Linked DNA regions of Homo sapiens: all the other regions are linked to region 1. The links are contacts of gene promoters, found by promoter capture Hi-C in blood cells and fetal thymus (Javierre and others, 2016). All regions are on one chromosome and are shown on one strand. Each heading gives the region's core, a stretch centred on a gene start or on the middle of the fragment in contact. The rest is flanking DNA. Distances are from core to core; before and after follow the strand shown.

Region 1 (3,693 bases), core at 857-3,356:
TGTATCCTCTGCCTCCCCGGTTCAAGCGATTCTCCTGCCTCAGCCTCCTGAGTAGACGGGATTATAGGCGCACACCACCACACCTGGCTAATTTTTTGTATTTTTAGTAGAGATGGGGTTTCACCATGTTGGTCAGGCTGGTCTTGAACTCCTGACCTCGTGATCCGCCCGCCTCGGCCTCCCAAAGTGGTGGGATTTAGCCACCGCACCCAGTGGCTTAAAAGTTTTTTTACTTGTTTGTTTTTTGGTTTACACTAGGAATATAGAGGTACTTCCTCACCTTGAAAAACAGCATCTACAAAACTCCCACAACTAATGTCATACTTAATGGTGAGAGACTGAATGCATTCGCCACCCCCCCTTTTTTTTTTTGAGACGGAGTCTCGCTCTTGCCCAGGCTGGAGTGCAGTGGCGGGATCTTGGCTCACTGCAAGCTCCGCCTCCCGGGTTCACGCCATTCTCCTGCCTCAGCCTTCCGAGTAGCTGCGACTACAGGCGCCCACCACCACGCCCGGCTAATTTTTTTTGTATTTTTTAATAAAGACGAGGTTTCACTGTGTTAGCCAGGATGGTCTTGATCTCCCGACCTTGTGATTCACCCGCCTCGGCCTCCCAAAGTGCTGGGATTACAGGCGTGAGCCACCGCGCCCGGCCTGCATTCCCCTTAAAACAGGGAACAAGGCAAGGATGTCTAATGTTATCACTTTTATTTAACAGACTACTGGAAATCTGCACAATAAGGAAGAAAAAGAAAAAGCACTCAGCTTAGAAAAAAAAAAACTCCCTATTTATTTGCAGATGAAATTATTATCTATGTAAAAATTCCAAGGAATCTATACAACCCCCCCTAAAATTAGTAAGGGAGTTCAGCAAGATGGCAGGTTACAAGATCCGCACACGAAACCAGTTATTCAGAATGCAGCACAGAGGGACAAAAAGATGGAAAATATAGACGGTAGGTTAAAAAGCTTCTTATGTTCGAGTTCCAGAAGGAGAGAGAAATGAGACAGGCATCTGAAGAAAAATGACTGCGATTTCCCAAAACTGGTGGAAGATACCAACCCACATATTATAGAAATCCAAAGACTTCCAAGCAAGAAACAAAACAAAAGGAAGAAAAAATATCCCACTTAGACTTATGATAGCGAAACTGCAGAACAGTGAAAGATGGAGAGCTGAGGACGGAGAAATCCACAGGGGCCAAGTGAAAACAACGTTTACACCTTGGACTTAACGATAAAAGCGAACTCGTACTTGCACAGTCATTGGCGCCTGCCAAACCCCTTACACATATTAGGTGATTTACTCCTCACAGCAAATGTATTAGGTAGATTCTATTACTGCTTGTATTTTACAGATGAGGGAGTTGAGATTTGGTTATTTGCCCAAAGGAGCACACTTTATCGATGTAGCGATAGGATTTTGAACAAGGTAGTTCTCGCTCCAGTTTTGTGCCCTTAACCACTACACATACTTGTTTCTCCAAAGGGCACTGGGAAAATGGGAAGCCACTGAAAGACTTTAAACCGGGGAGTGATAACATTTGTTTCTGGAAGATCCTGGCACCACTGTGGATAGTGGATTAAGTGGGGCTAAAGGTGGAAATAAGCCGCTGGAATAATGTAGCCCCAAACAGGGAGGGCCTGAATGAACTAGTGAGGTGGCAGAAGGCGCAGGCACAAGCAAATGGATTCGCGAGCTCTTCCGGAGTCGAGTCCATAGAGCTTGACCTGGGATCGCGTTTTACTCCAGGTGCAGAGTGAGGAAAACCGCGTTTCTGACGCAGGCAATTCGGTGGATAGTGAAAGTCATTCACTGAAGTGGACTGAAGCGGGGCGCACAGGAGACTCGGAGGCCTGAGGACGAGCTAGGCTTTGGACGCGGTGGATTTGTGGCGTCTGTAAAGCCGGCGGCCAGCCGAGGGGCAGGAAACGGCAGAAAGCAGAAGCCGCATCTCTAGAGCTCTCCGAGAAGGACCTTCGAGAGCCCCGGCCTTAGCGAAGCTCGGCACGGCGCTGCACGCGTCTCCGGAAGCCGCGCGCGCAGGCGCAGAGCGGGGGGGCGCCCCCTGGCGGCGCAGGGACCGCCCCCAACCTCGCGCCGCCGCCGCCCGCCTCAGCCCAACATGGCGATGCACAACAAGGCGGCGCCGCCGCAGATCCCGGACACCCGGCGGGAGCTGGCGGAGCTCGTGAAGCGGAAGCAGGAGCTGGCGGTGAGGGGCTAGGACAGGGGTTGCACGGCATGGGGCTCCGCGCCCGCCCCGCCTCCAGGCCCCAAGCCCGGCCGCGCTAGGCCGTTTGTTACTCCGGGGGCGCGGCGCGGCGGGCCGGGTGCTCGGCGGCCTGAGGCCGGGTGCGCATTCTGCGGCCCGCCGGCGGTTCAGCTTCCCGGCTGTGCGAATCCGGAGCCGGGAGAGAGCCGGGAGCGCGGGAGGGGGAGGGGAAGCGGCAGCCGCAGGAGGGGGCGTGGAGGGAGGACGGTGCCGGGGCCCGGGGAGAGGGCGCTAGGAAGGGCGAGCGTCAGTGAGCCGCGGGGGTGGGCGAGGCGGGCTAGTCCGTGATCTTTGCGGGGAGGGGGTGGGGAAGGAGGCTAGTGTGGGAGGGGGACCCAGTCACCCCGTCTGGACTTTGGAGGCTGGTGGGGAGCGTGTTCTTTTTGGTACTGGGAGTAGATCCGTTGAATGGAGGTTTTTGATAGACAGGGTTGTGATGTGTTTGGGAACATCTAGAAGGTGACAGGCGAGGGAGAAGAACACATTCCGGAGAATTCAGAATTGTGACAGGCACCCAAGGCCCAATGCACTCTGGTGGCTAAGCTCTTCCTGCCCCCGCGTCTCGGCTTGGGCACCCGGGAGGCCCCTCTCACCTGAAGCTGCCCTTCTAGGTTTCCATAGCAACTGGCAGCCCGGTGTCGGCGGCCTCTCTTGAGCCTGCGGGGAGGGGAGCGAGTTGACGCTGAAAGGCTGCTCACCTTTCCCTCTCCTGGTAGCGATACCTTTTGTGCGTGGGAGTGGACATCGCCCAAGTTCTGCGTTAGCCTGGGCTCTTGACTCATGGTTTCCGTGAATCCTCTAAAGTATATGCAAAATTTCGCGTGTGTGTGTATTTTTCTGGAGACATGCTTTATACATTCAGGGGTCCATCACCCCCAAAGGTCTAGACTGTCTTAGTCCTAAACGGCTCCTCCTCCCCGTATCTTCCATCTCTCCACAGGGTGGTTTAGTGTGGGCAAGCTTGCGTTTACGAGTCTAATATCAGGATTTCATTTTGGCCAGACTTAAGTGTTTGCATTTAAAAGGTATCATTCATGTCCTTGTTTTTCATCTCTCAGGAAACATTGGCAAATTTGGAGCGACAGATCTATGCTTTTGAGGGAAGCTACCTGGAAGACACTCAGATGTATGGCAATATTATTCGTGGCTGGGATCGGTATCTGACCAACCAAAAGTGAGTGTCGAAAGCCTGTAGTGTTCCTATTGTGCCCTAGTAACGTTTGTTTTTAGGACTGTATGCTCTTAGTGGCAACTTTGCTGGAGGCAGTAGTAAAGTAGTGGTGTGATCTGGACTTGAACTCTTGGACTCTGGCTCAGGCACTGCCTCACCGAATAATCTTAGACAAGGCTCACATCTGTAAAATAGCGAAAGTTGGGCCTATGGCACAGGGTTGTGTGAGGCTTAAATACAGTATCTT
Region 2 (3,693 bases), core at 606-3,105, 1.3 Mb before region 1:
CTAGCGGCTACATGTTTGACAGTGCAGATAAAGAACATGTCTATCATGTATATCAGTTGTATTGAACAGCACGATAGGAATGGTTGAAACTGAGGATGTTCAGCAAGGAACAGAGAAGACTTAGTGGGTAATGAATACTGCAATCTGGTATTTGAAGGGCTGTCATGAAAAAGGTGAAGACTATTCCTATTTTATTCTATTATAGGCTTCAGGGAGTGTGGTTTGGCTTTAAGACTTTTTTTTTTTTTTGAGACGGAGTCTCGCTCTGTCGCCAAGGCTGGAGTGCGGTGGCGCGATCTCGGCTCACTGCAAGCTCCGCCTCCTGGGTTCAAGCCATTCTCCTGCCTCAGCCTCCCGAGTAGCTGGGACTACAGGCGCCCGCCACCACGCCCGGCTAATTTTTTGTATTTTTTTAAGTAGAGATGGGGTTTCACCATGTTAGCCAGGATGGTCTCGATCTCCTGACCTCATGATCCGCCCGCCTCTGCCTCCCAAAGTGCTGGGATTACAAGCGTGAGCCACCGCGCGGCCGGCTTTAACAATTTTTAAACAAAGGTTTACCACAGTGGAGTTGGCTGCCTTTCGAGATGGTGAGCTCTTTTACCTTCGAACTATTTAAGTGCATTCTGCATGTCTATTAGACACTATAGAGTTGGTTCGTTTTAGGTGAGAGGTTGGGCTAGATGACCTCTAAGGGTGTATCCTACCTCTAACTTCTGGGTTCAGACAAAACCAAAGTCCCAGACCTGCCCGCATGTGCGAATTTTTCCTTCATAATCAAGAAGTCAGTCTCCTTGGAGGGCTGGGAGCACCCCCACTCCTGTACTTTAAAAAGTGTATAGGGCTGTGCTTTAAGAGGATCCTCTTCTCAAACTTCCAGTTCTAGAGCCTGATTATCAAAAATAAAAATTCCTCTAGATTTCTCGGACATATTTGGTGACAAGCATTTGCTTTTGTTTGCTTTCATTATTCAATACTTTGGTCTCTAATCTGAACGAGGTCATAGAAGAGGCAGTGTTCTATGGGGGATGGAATTCCTAGAGTAGACTTTGACAAGGCGGGAAGGAGGGCAAATTGAGTCCCGTTGGGTTTGAAGTGGCAGCAGTATCCACTATCGGCGACTTACTGAAGAAAGAAGATAAGATGTTCTAGCTTGGCTGCATCTGCTTTCCCATCAGGGTCCAGCTACCTGCTAGAACAAACTATCACGGTGACCCATGACTCTGCCTTGGTTGAGGTTTGCCCTCAGTGTGGCTGGCTCCCCCATACCTTTGCACATCCCAATCTATCCATCCACCTAGATCTGCTCAGACGCTTTCTCATTCAACTCCCGAGCATTATTTATCCGTGACCTTCCCACATAATATTTCGTAGCGAGGTTACTTACGCAGAGGTCCGATCTCTCTGTTCATCTTCAAGCAACCTGAAGGCAGGCAGGGTCTGCGTCGGATCCAGTTCTGTGCCCCTTGGTAGGCACCCAGGACACTGCAGGCATCAATAAATATCGGTTGGGCAAGTACAGTTGCAGGATGAGGACAATCAATTCTTCCTCAAATGCCGGGAGAGCATCTCCATAGCGGTGCTCTGGGAGCCCGGAAGAAGGCAGGGGAGCGGTGCAGACAGCGTTGTATGCGGGCCGGGGCGGAGGGCTGAGGGCCCGAGCCGGGGCTAGAGGCGCGGCCGGGCCGCCCTCCTCGTGACTCCTCCTCCCCCCTCCGCGGCTCTGAGTCAGGTGATTCCGGCACGTGACGGGGCACCACCTACCCTGCTGCTCTCGAGTAGCAGCTCGGGCGGCCAATAAGCGGCTGGGCTTCGGCTCGGGGCCTATGAGAGCCGGGCTCCGGGGGGCGGGCCGGACTGTGGCGGCTGCCGGGGGCGGTGGCGGTGGTGGCGGCGGCGGCGGAGGCGGACTGGGGAGGCGGCGGCCTGGCTCGGCCTGGCCTGGCCTGTCAGGGCGCGGGCGGCGGCGGCTCCAGCACCATGTCCCTGCAGTACGGGGCGGAGGAGACGCCCCTCGCCGGCAGTTACGGCGCGGCCGATTCGTTTCCAAAGGACTTCGGCTACGGCGTGGAGGAGGAGGAAGAGGAGGCGGCGGCGGCGGGCGGAGGGGTTGGGGCAGGGGCAGGCGGTGGCTGTGGTCCGGGGGGCGCTGACAGCTCCAAGCCGAGGATTCTGCTCATGGGACTCCGGCGCAGCGGCAAGTCCTCCATCCAGAAGGTGAGCAGGGCTGCGCCCAGTCCCCCGCCCCCTCCCCGGTTCTCAGGTGGCCGGTAGCGGGGACGCCCGGGAGGGCGGCGGCCGGGGCCCGCCTGCGCTCCGTCCCTCCGCACTTTCTCTTCCACTCTTGCGAGCGCACAGGCGCGGCCCGCGCGGGGACCCCGACCTCTGTGTCCACGCCCAAGTCAGCTGAAGCCAAGTGGAGCGCTGAAGGCGAAACTGGTTGCCGGGAGGCAGGTGCCCGGTGGCACCGCCCAAGACCTCCGCCCCCTGGGACCCAGCTCCTGTGTCATTTACGAAACTGAGACGTACTCTCCAGTTCTCACTTGGAGAACTTCGTGGACTCCCTCCCCTGGCCCGTTTTGATTTGTTCTCACTTCAGGTGACCTGAGTGTTTCGGGATTCCCAGCAGAGCCCCAGGGAGCAGCGTCAGGAAGAGTTGTGACTAAGACACTGGGCGTTGTAATTCTCGCTACTGATGTGAAGGAGACTTCGCTGTAGCATTACTGGGAATTGGGTAGTGAGATTGCACCCATTTCAGTAGTTGTGGCCTGGTGAATGTAATTACTGGTGCTGTTCCCCCTGTAGGGGTGTGTTTTTAAAAATCTGAGACTTTGAGAATATTTTGCAGACCTAGTCTGTTTGTTTTCACTTTTGGGCCTTCATGAACAAATGGAGGGCTGTACACGTTTGTTTGTTTATGTTTTTGAGACGGAGTCTCTCGCTCTGTCGCCCAGGCTGGAGAATGCAGTGGTGCAATCTCGGCTCACTGCAACCTCCACCTCCCTGGTTCAAGTAATTCTCCCGCCTCAGCCTCCCGAATAGCTGGGATTACAGGCGCGCGCCACCACGCCCGGCTAATTATTGTATTTTTAGTAGAGACGGGGTTTCACCATGTTGGCCAGGGTCATCTCGAACTGCTGACCTCAAGTGATCATCCGCCTTGGCCTCCCAAAGTGCTGGGATTACAGGTGTGAGTCACCACGCTGGCCTACACTGTTTAGTGAGGGTTAAATAGAGGCAAGGTTGACTTCCTCCATCAGCCAAACCCATTATACGCGGAGTGAGCTGGTAATAAAACTAGTATCAGCAGGCACCTGGTCTTTTCACCTCTCCACTCTGTTGCAAAGGCCTATCCAAAATAAATCTGTGATTTTTTTTTCTTTCTGAATCTGTGATATTTTGTAGATGGGATCTTTTTAAAAAGCAGCGTTCTTCCAGGTTTGCTGGAGTACTGTGTTTTATTTACCTTGATTTTCACCTCTACAGCAAAACTTGGGTACGTTGACTGTAGGTTTTTAGTAAACTAATTTCAGTTATTCACATTTGTTACTGAGAAAACCTTGAGAGTAATTGTTCACTTTTCTCTTCTAGACAGTAAGAGGCAAAGTAGTTTTATGTTAGAACTGTGTAGGTTGTGATTATTGTGATCCTTTTTTTTTTGTTTGTTTGTTATGGAGTCTTGCTCATCGCCCA
Region 3 (3,693 bases), core at 620-3,119, 1.1 Mb after region 1:
AGCCAAGAAGCCTAATTTACTGAGCTTCTTCTCTGTGCCAGATGCTTTCACACATTAATGAAGGTCACTTAAATCTTACAGTTCTCTGAGAAAGGCCTAATTTTTTGTTTTCATAACAAGCAAATTGAGGCTGAGGAAGAAAGTAATTTTTCCAAGGCTATACAGAGTGACTTTTAAAAAATGTAAATCAGGTGGGGCACAGTGGCGTGTGCCTGTAGTCCCAGCTATTCTTGAGGCTTGGGTAGGAGGATCACTTGAGCCCAGGTAGTTGAGGCTGCAGTGAGCTATGATCACACCACTGCACTCCAGCCTGGATGACAGGGTGAGAACCTGTCTCTACAAGTAAATCAAATCACTTCGCTCCCTTTCAATAGCCTGTCATAGCACTTCTAGTACTAGATGAGAAGACTGAGGCACAGAGAAGATACTAACTTGCCCAAAGTCACAATTAGCCAGGAGTAGATTTGAACCTAGGCACTGTATCCGGAGGCTGCACTCCTAACCATGAAATCTAAACTCCTTACCTTGGCTCACAAAGCCCTATATGCTCTGGTTCCTGCTTCCTCTCTGGCCTCTTGTTATACCACTCTCCCCAGCTTCCCTGGCCTTTCCTGTGTTCCTAAATTGTCAAGGTCATTTCCCCCAGGTTCTTTGCATGAACTGTGAAAAGAAAAAATTTAACTTTTAATTGGTGATTTGACTTTTTTTTGCCAAATTTGTTAAATCTGACTTTTATTTGCAACTCTAGAATCGGGCAACACTTCATTCTATAAAATGGAATGAGTGTTCAAATGAGCTGAGCAGAGGAGATTGGTTTTACAGCCAGAAAAGGGCTGAGGAAAGCAGAAACAGAAAACAAAAAGATTGGTTGTTTCAAAGTTACTTTCCTTGTAACTTTGAAGGCTAAAGCAGAGGGGACTTCCTTATCCTGCCAGCTAAAACAGGATGGTTTGGAGATCTAGCTATCTCTCACTCTTCTGATTTATCGGAATATCAGATAAACAACTTAGTTTCCACTTGGTGATGTAGAACTTTAGCATGAGTGACTCCATTTTGGTTCTGTTGGGCTTGGTGCAGGAGCCCTGTTCAAACCAATGGCCTCCAATTTTTTTTTTTTTTTGAGACGGAGTCTTGCTCTGTTGCCCAGGCTGGAATGAAGTGTTACTTTCTGAGCTCACTGCAGCCTCCACTTCCTGGATTCAAGCAATTCTCCTGCCTCAGCCTCCCAAGTAGGTGGGACCAGAGGTGTACGCCACCACGGTGGGCTAATTTTTTCTATTTTTTGTAGAGACAGGGTCTCCCCATTGTTGCCCAGACTGGTCTCGAACTCCTGGGCTCCAGTGATCCTTCCGCCTTGTCCTCCAAAGTGCTGGGATTACAGGTGTGGGCCTCTGCACCCGGCCCTGCCTCCTATAAATTTTACTTAACAAACTGTTCCCGCTAATTGCAATGCTCCTCCCATAGTTTTCACAAGCTTGGCTTCATGTCACTAATCTCAACTCAAATGTCACCTTCTCAGGGCACCCCTGACAATCCAATAAAAGACCACCTTGTCACCATCACATCACACCTTTAATCTTCTGAAGAAATTTTTCCCTATTTTTCTTCTTTGTTTTCTTAAGACTCTCTCCCCTGCAGCGCCATCAGCTCAGGGAGCCACTTGATCTTGGTCACTGCTCCATGCCGGAGCCTGGGAAGGAGCCTGGCCCAGGTCGCCGGTTCAATGAATGCGTGCGGAATGAATGAACGACTCTAGTGAAAGAGACTCCAATGACGCAGGCCGGGATTTGCGGAGCACGAGCCCCGCGCCGCGAAGCATTCTGGGGATTGTAGTTTCTCCGTGACGCGGTGACTTGCAGAGCACTGACGCACTCTGCGCCCGGAGGACAGAGCGGCCCGGTCGCCGGCATGGTTTCTCCGTCCTGCTGCAGCCGGCGGGAGGCAGCCAGTCCAGGCGCCCGCTAGCTTCGGCGGCGACCCAGACGGGGAAAGCGGAAGGAATGTCGCGTGGTGGGTCCGGGTCGGCGGTGCAGGGAGCCCCGGGGCGGAATGCGGGGGATGCCAGGACCTCCGGAAGGAGGTGCCGGAGCCCAGGAAGCGTTTTCTTCCCCATTTACCGAGTATAGCTCCTTTCCCCAGACCCGCTCCCGCTGCTCTGAGTAAGCGGTGCTCATCCCGTTTTACCGGTAGCTTAGCTAGCTTGGAGAAGCTAAGTGGTTTGCTAAGTGATCGCCCTCCTAGGAGGTGGCAAAGCCTGTTCTAGAACCCGGGCCTGACTCGAGGTCCGGTGACTGCTCTTTGCAGTCGCAGCAGCAGCCCCATACCTTTGCTTGATCGCAGATTCATCAGGCTGCAGCCGGGTGGCTGGTCGTTAGGCCATGCCCAGGGACCTAGCTCCCAGGCCCCCTCGTCACTGGCCTAGTCTGGCTTGCCACGCTCAGTGCCACAATGCACAGCCCTGGACGGGATGCTGAGTGAGGTCGTAAAGAGAGAGCGTTCCACCCCCTTTAACTCAGGTCTGAAAATAAGGGATAGGTAAGACATAGTGCACTAATACATTATCAGGGCATGTTGAAATCAAAGGAGAGTACCTTTAGTGGAGTGTGATTCTGGTAGCTTTGTTTCTCCTGTAGTTTAATAAATGTGGAAACAGGTTCAGAGACATTAACTTTTCTAGGTTTTCATAATTAGGGGTGGAGTGGGGATTCCAACCTAGGTTTCTCTACCTTCAAAACCTATGTACCTTATATAATACCGGTTGGGGGTTTTTTTCCCCAATTCATTATCCAGATTTATTTTCTTTTTTTTTTTCTGAGAGTCTCGCTGTGTCACCCAGGCTGGTGTGCAGTGGCACAATCTTGGCTCACTGTAACCTCTGCCTCCTGGGTTCAAGCGATTCTCCTGCTTCAGCCTCCCAAGTAGCTGAGATTACAGGTGCGCCCATGCCCAGGTAATTTTTGTATTTTTGGTAGATACTGGGTTTCACCATGTTGGCCAGGCGGGTCTTGAACTCCTGACCTCAGGTGATCCACTCGCCTTGGCCTCCCAAAATCCTGGGATTACAGGCGTGAGCCCTTGCACCCGGCCTCATTACCTTAATTTCTACTTACATAACAGCTGCATGGTGTAGACCAATAGTTCCCAGAGTGTGGGCCCCTGACCAGCAGCATCAGCATCACCTGGGAACATGTTCAAAATGACTTTATCTCTGGGCCTCACCTCAGACCTGAGTCAAACTGGGAGTGGGGCCCAGCAAGCTGAGTTAACAAGCCCCTCAGATGATTCTGATACACACTAATGTTTGAGAACTACTGGTGTCAACCAATGATTCTCAAACCTTAACGTGTATCTAATTCACGTAGGGGGTCATGTTAAAATGCAGTCTGTTTCCAGCCAGCGTGGAAGATGGCAGTGAGCCACTCAGTGAAGGAGTGGATTTTATCTCAGAACAGGCTTGGGGAGAGACCTGAGATTGCGCATTTCTAACCAGTACCCCTCAGCACTTTGGAGTTATCTGGGGAGCTTTCTTTTTTTTTTTTTTTTTTTTTTTTTTGAGATGGAGTCACTCTGCTGCCCAGGCTGGAGTGCAGTGGCACTCCACTTGCAGCTCACTGCAAGCTCTGTCTCCCAGGTTCACGCCATTCTCCTGCCTCAGCCCCCCGAGTAGCTGGGACTACAGGCGCCCGCCACCAC
Region 4 (3,693 bases), core at 472-2,971, 1.0 Mb after region 1:
AGAGGACATGAGGAAGACTTAGAAGTTTAGCCTATGGACAGCGAGGAACCAATGGATGGATGATTTTCTTTTTTTTTTTTTTTGAAGGAGTTTCGCTTTTGTCGCCCACACTGGAGTGCAGTGGCACAGTCTCAGCTCACTGCAACCTAAATACAACAGAAATTCCCTATAATTCCCAAGGACAGGCCATAGTTGAAAGAACTAATAGAACACTCAAAACTCAATTAGTTAAACAGAAAGAAGGGGAAGACAGTAAGGAGTGTACCACTCCTCAGATGCAACTTAATCTAGCCCTCTATACTTTAAATTTTTTAAACATTTATAGAAATCAGACTACTACTTCTGCAGAACAACATCTTACTAAAAAGAAGAGCCCATATGAAGGAAAACTGATTTGGTGGAAAGACAACAAAAATAAGACATGGGAAATAGGGAAGGTGGTAACGTAAGGGAGAGGTTTTGCTTGTGTTTCACCAGGAGAAAATCAGCTTCCTGTTTGGATACCCACTAGACATTTGAAGTTCTACAATGAACCCATTGGAGATGCAAAGAAAAGCGCCTCCACGGAGACGGAGACACTGCAATCAAGCACCATCAACTCACAAGATGAACAGAATGGTGATGTCAGAAGAACAGATGAAGTTGCCATCCACCAAGAAGGTGGAGGCGCCGACTTGGGCACAATTAAAGAAGCTGACACAGTTAACTAAAAAAAAAAAAGCCTAGAGAACACAAAGGTGACACAAACTCCAGAGAACATGCTGCTTGCAGCTTTGATGATTGTATCAACTGTGGTAAGTCTCCCCATGCCTGCAGGAGCAGCTGCAGCTAATTATACCTACTGGGCCTATGTGCCTTTCCCGCCCTTAATTCAGGCAGTCACATGGATGGATAATCCTGATGGGAGATAGGCTCATGAGCCTAGAACATCGTTTCCAGTTACAGTGTGACTGGGATACATCAGATTTTTGTATTACACCCCGAGTTTATAATGAGTCTGAGCATCACTGGGACATGGTTAGACGCCATCTGCAGGGAAGAGAAGATAATCCCACTTTAGACATTTCCAAATTAAAAGAACAAATTTTCGAAGCATCAAAAGCCCATTTAAATTTGGTACCAGGAACTGAGGTAATCGCGGGAGTTGCTGATGGCCTCACAAATCTTAACCCTGTCACGTGGGTTAAGACCATCGGAAGTACTACTATTGTAAATTTCATATTAATCCTTCCCCAGAGGCAGGCCCCAGTCTGCAGGTGTACCCAGCAGCTCCGAAGAGACAGCGACCATCGAGAACAAGCCATGATGACAATGGTGTTTTTGTCTAAAAGAAAAGGGGAAAATGTTGGGAAAAGAAAGAGAGATCAGACTGTTACTGTGTCTATGTAGAAAGAGGTAGACATAACAGACTCCATTTTGTTCTGTACTAAGAAAAATTCTTCTGCCTTGAGATGCTGTTAATCTGTAACCCTACCCCCAACCCTGTGCTCACAGAAACATGTGCTGTGTCGACTCAAGGTTTAATGGATTTAGGGCTATGCAGGATGCACTTTGTTAAACAAATGCTTGAAGGCAGCATGCTTGTTAAAAGTCATCACCACTCCCTAATCTCAAGTACCCAGGGACACAAAACACTGCAGAAGGCCACAGTGACCTCTGCCTAGGAAAGCCAGGTATTGTCCAAGGGTTCTCCCCATGTGATAGTCTGAAATATGGCCTCGTGGGAAGGGAAAGACCTGAGCGTCCCCCAGCCCGACACCTGTAAAGGGTCTGTGCTGAGGAGGATTAGTAAAAGAGGAAGGCCTCTTTGCAGTTGAGATAAGAGGAAGACATCTGTCTCCTGCTCCTCCCTGGGCAATGGAATGTCTCGGTGTAAAACCCGATTGTATGTTCCATCTACTGAGATAGGAGAAAACCGCCTTAAGGCTGGAGGTGAGACATGCTGGTGGCAATACTGCTCTTTAATGCATTGAGATGTTTATGTATGTGCACATCAAAGCTCAGCACCTTTTTCTTAACCTTATTTATGATACAGAGACATTTGTTCACATGTTTTCCTGCTGACCCTCTCCCCACTATTACCCTACTGTCCTGCCACAACCCCCTCTCAGAGATGGTAGAGATAATGATCAATAAATACTGAGGGAACTCAGAGACCCGTGCCTTCGCGGGTCCTCTGGAGCACCAGTCCCCTGGGCCCACTTTTCCTTCTCTATACTTTGTTTCTGTGTCTCTCTCTTTTGTCAGTCCGATGAGAAACACCCACAGGTGTGGAGGGGCAGGCCACCCCTTCAGGGTCTGGTTTTGAAGGGCCTCAAAGGACATGAGGAAGACTTAGAAATTTAGCCCATGGACAGCGAGGAACCAATGGATGGATGCCTTTTTTTTTTATTTTTTGAAGGAGTTTTGCTTTTGTCACCCACACTGGAGTGCAGTGGCATGGTCTCAGCTCACTGCAACCTCCACCTCCCGGGTTCAAGTGACTCTCCTGCCTCAGCCTCCCGAATAGCTGGGATTACGGGTGCCCACCACCACGCCTGGCTAATTTTTGTATTTTTAGTAGAGATGGGGTTTCACCATGTTGGCCAGGCTGGTCTCGAACTCCTGACCTCAGGTGATCCACCTGCCTTGGCCTCCCAAAGTGCTGGGATTACAGGCATGAGCCACAGCGTCCAGCCAATTTTCTGTTGGGTGGTGACATACTGGAATTCACAATTTGGAAGAAGCACTCCAGCTAAGTATAGCAAGGGTGTATCCCAGGAATGAAGGCAGGGAGACCAGGAGGAAGCCGAGACGTCATCCAAGGAGACAACAATGATGGACTGGCTTCCTGCAGGGGCCATAAGGTGGGAGAGAAGGGACAAATCGCACTGGAAGGAGCGACAGACTGGATGTAGGGGGTGACCAGCAGGGAGGTGTTCAGGACCAGTTTAAGTTTCTGGATTCACCAGGACAGAAAAGCAGGTTTTTAGGAGAAAACATGGAGGAGCTCAGCTGGGAGGCGTGTTTAGTTTTGATGTGTGTGGAGCTTCAAGGGGAGCTGGGGGTCTGAGAGGCAGGACTATGAGGTGCTACTCAGGGTCATGCAGCATCAATATCATCTGTGGGTCTAGAATGCAGGCCTTCCCTCCCCACCACCACCACCACCGTCATTCCCAGGCCTGGGCCACCTTCTACCTCTGTTATGGCACCCATTCCAGCCTCCATGTCTTTGTTCTCACTGTTCCCCTGCCCAGCATACCTCCCCTCTTCCATACAAGTCCCACCCATCTGTTCAGTTCCCACCTCAACCAAGTGGTTAGAGCAAAGGTCCGAGGTCAGAGGTGGATGGGGCCTGAAAGAGTGGTGGTGAGTGTGGCAGAAAATGCAGAAGCCTTATTTAGAGCCCAGCTCAGCCTCAAAATGGCTGTGGGACATGAGCAGGTCACGTTCCCTCTCTGGGCCTCAGCTTCCCAACCTTTCAGGGATGAATAAGGAAAGATCCTTGAAGTTACAGATCTGGAAAGCGCCATAAGGTAAAACATCATCAGGACACTGAAGGTATACCACAGGACACACTCTACAAATGAGGAGAAAGCTTATGAAAAAAGACTTAGTGGCCCAGTGCGGTGGCTCACGCCTATAATCCCAACACTTTGGGAGGCCGAGCAGGCGGATTGCCTAAGGACAGGAGTTCGAGACCAGCCTGGCCAC

What was found. Contacts are between HindIII fragments. The CHiCAGO score rates a contact against its expected background, and 5 or more counts as called.
Region 2: a contact is called between the fragment with the promoter of RRAGC here and the fragment with the promoter of MEAF6 in region 1, in 4 of 17 cell types (naive CD4 T cells, fetal thymus, total CD8 T cells and 1 more). The highest score is 8.4, in naive CD4 T cells.
Region 3: the fragment with the promoter of LSM10 here is called in contact with the fragment with the promoter of MEAF6 in region 1 in 4 of 17 cell types (naive CD4 T cells, non-activated CD4 T cells, fetal thymus and 1 more); the score reaches 7.9 in naive CD4 T cells.
Region 4: a contact is called between a fragment that was not itself captured here and the fragment with the promoter of MEAF6 in region 1, in 1 of 17 cell types (M1 macrophages). The highest score is 5.0, in M1 macrophages.

The regions. Positions count from the first base shown.
Region 1 is chr1:37,513,179-37,516,871 of GRCh38, reverse strand. MEAF6 (MYST/Esa1 associated factor 6) reads left to right here and starts at 2,106. Exons shown (of 7, transcript NM_001270875.3): 1 at 2,106-2,215; 2 at 3,334-3,449. The coding sequence starts at 2,126. RefSeq lists a silencer at 1,922-2,521. The HindIII fragment of the contact is 2,267 bases long and covers 971-3,237 here.
Region 2 is chr1:38,857,934-38,861,626 of GRCh38, reverse strand. It overlaps RRAGC (Ras related GTP binding C), which reads left to right and starts at 1,855. Exons shown (of 7, transcript NM_022157.4): 1 at 1,855-2,217. The coding sequence starts at 1,981. It overlaps RRAGC-DT (RRAGC divergent transcript), which reads right to left and starts at 1,734. Exons shown (of 2, transcript NR_186075.1): 1 at 1,388-1,734. RefSeq lists an enhancer at 1,636-1,930 and a silencer at 1,566-2,325. The HindIII fragment of the contact is 4,947 bases long and covers 1-3,693 here.
Region 3 is chr1:36,396,084-36,399,776 of GRCh38, reverse strand. LSM10 (LSM10, U7 small nuclear RNA associated) reads left to right here and starts at 1,869. Exons shown (of 2, transcript NM_032881.3): 1 at 1,869-2,010. RefSeq lists enhancers at 1,300-2,011, 2,012-2,724. The HindIII fragment of the contact is 5,014 bases long and covers 1,477-3,693 here.
Region 4 is chr1:36,487,585-36,491,277 of GRCh38, reverse strand. No RefSeq gene overlaps it. Among named protein-coding and RNA genes, the nearest start is that of CSF3R, 6.5 kb to the right of the region's middle. The HindIII fragment of the contact is 3,716 bases long and covers 1-3,579 here.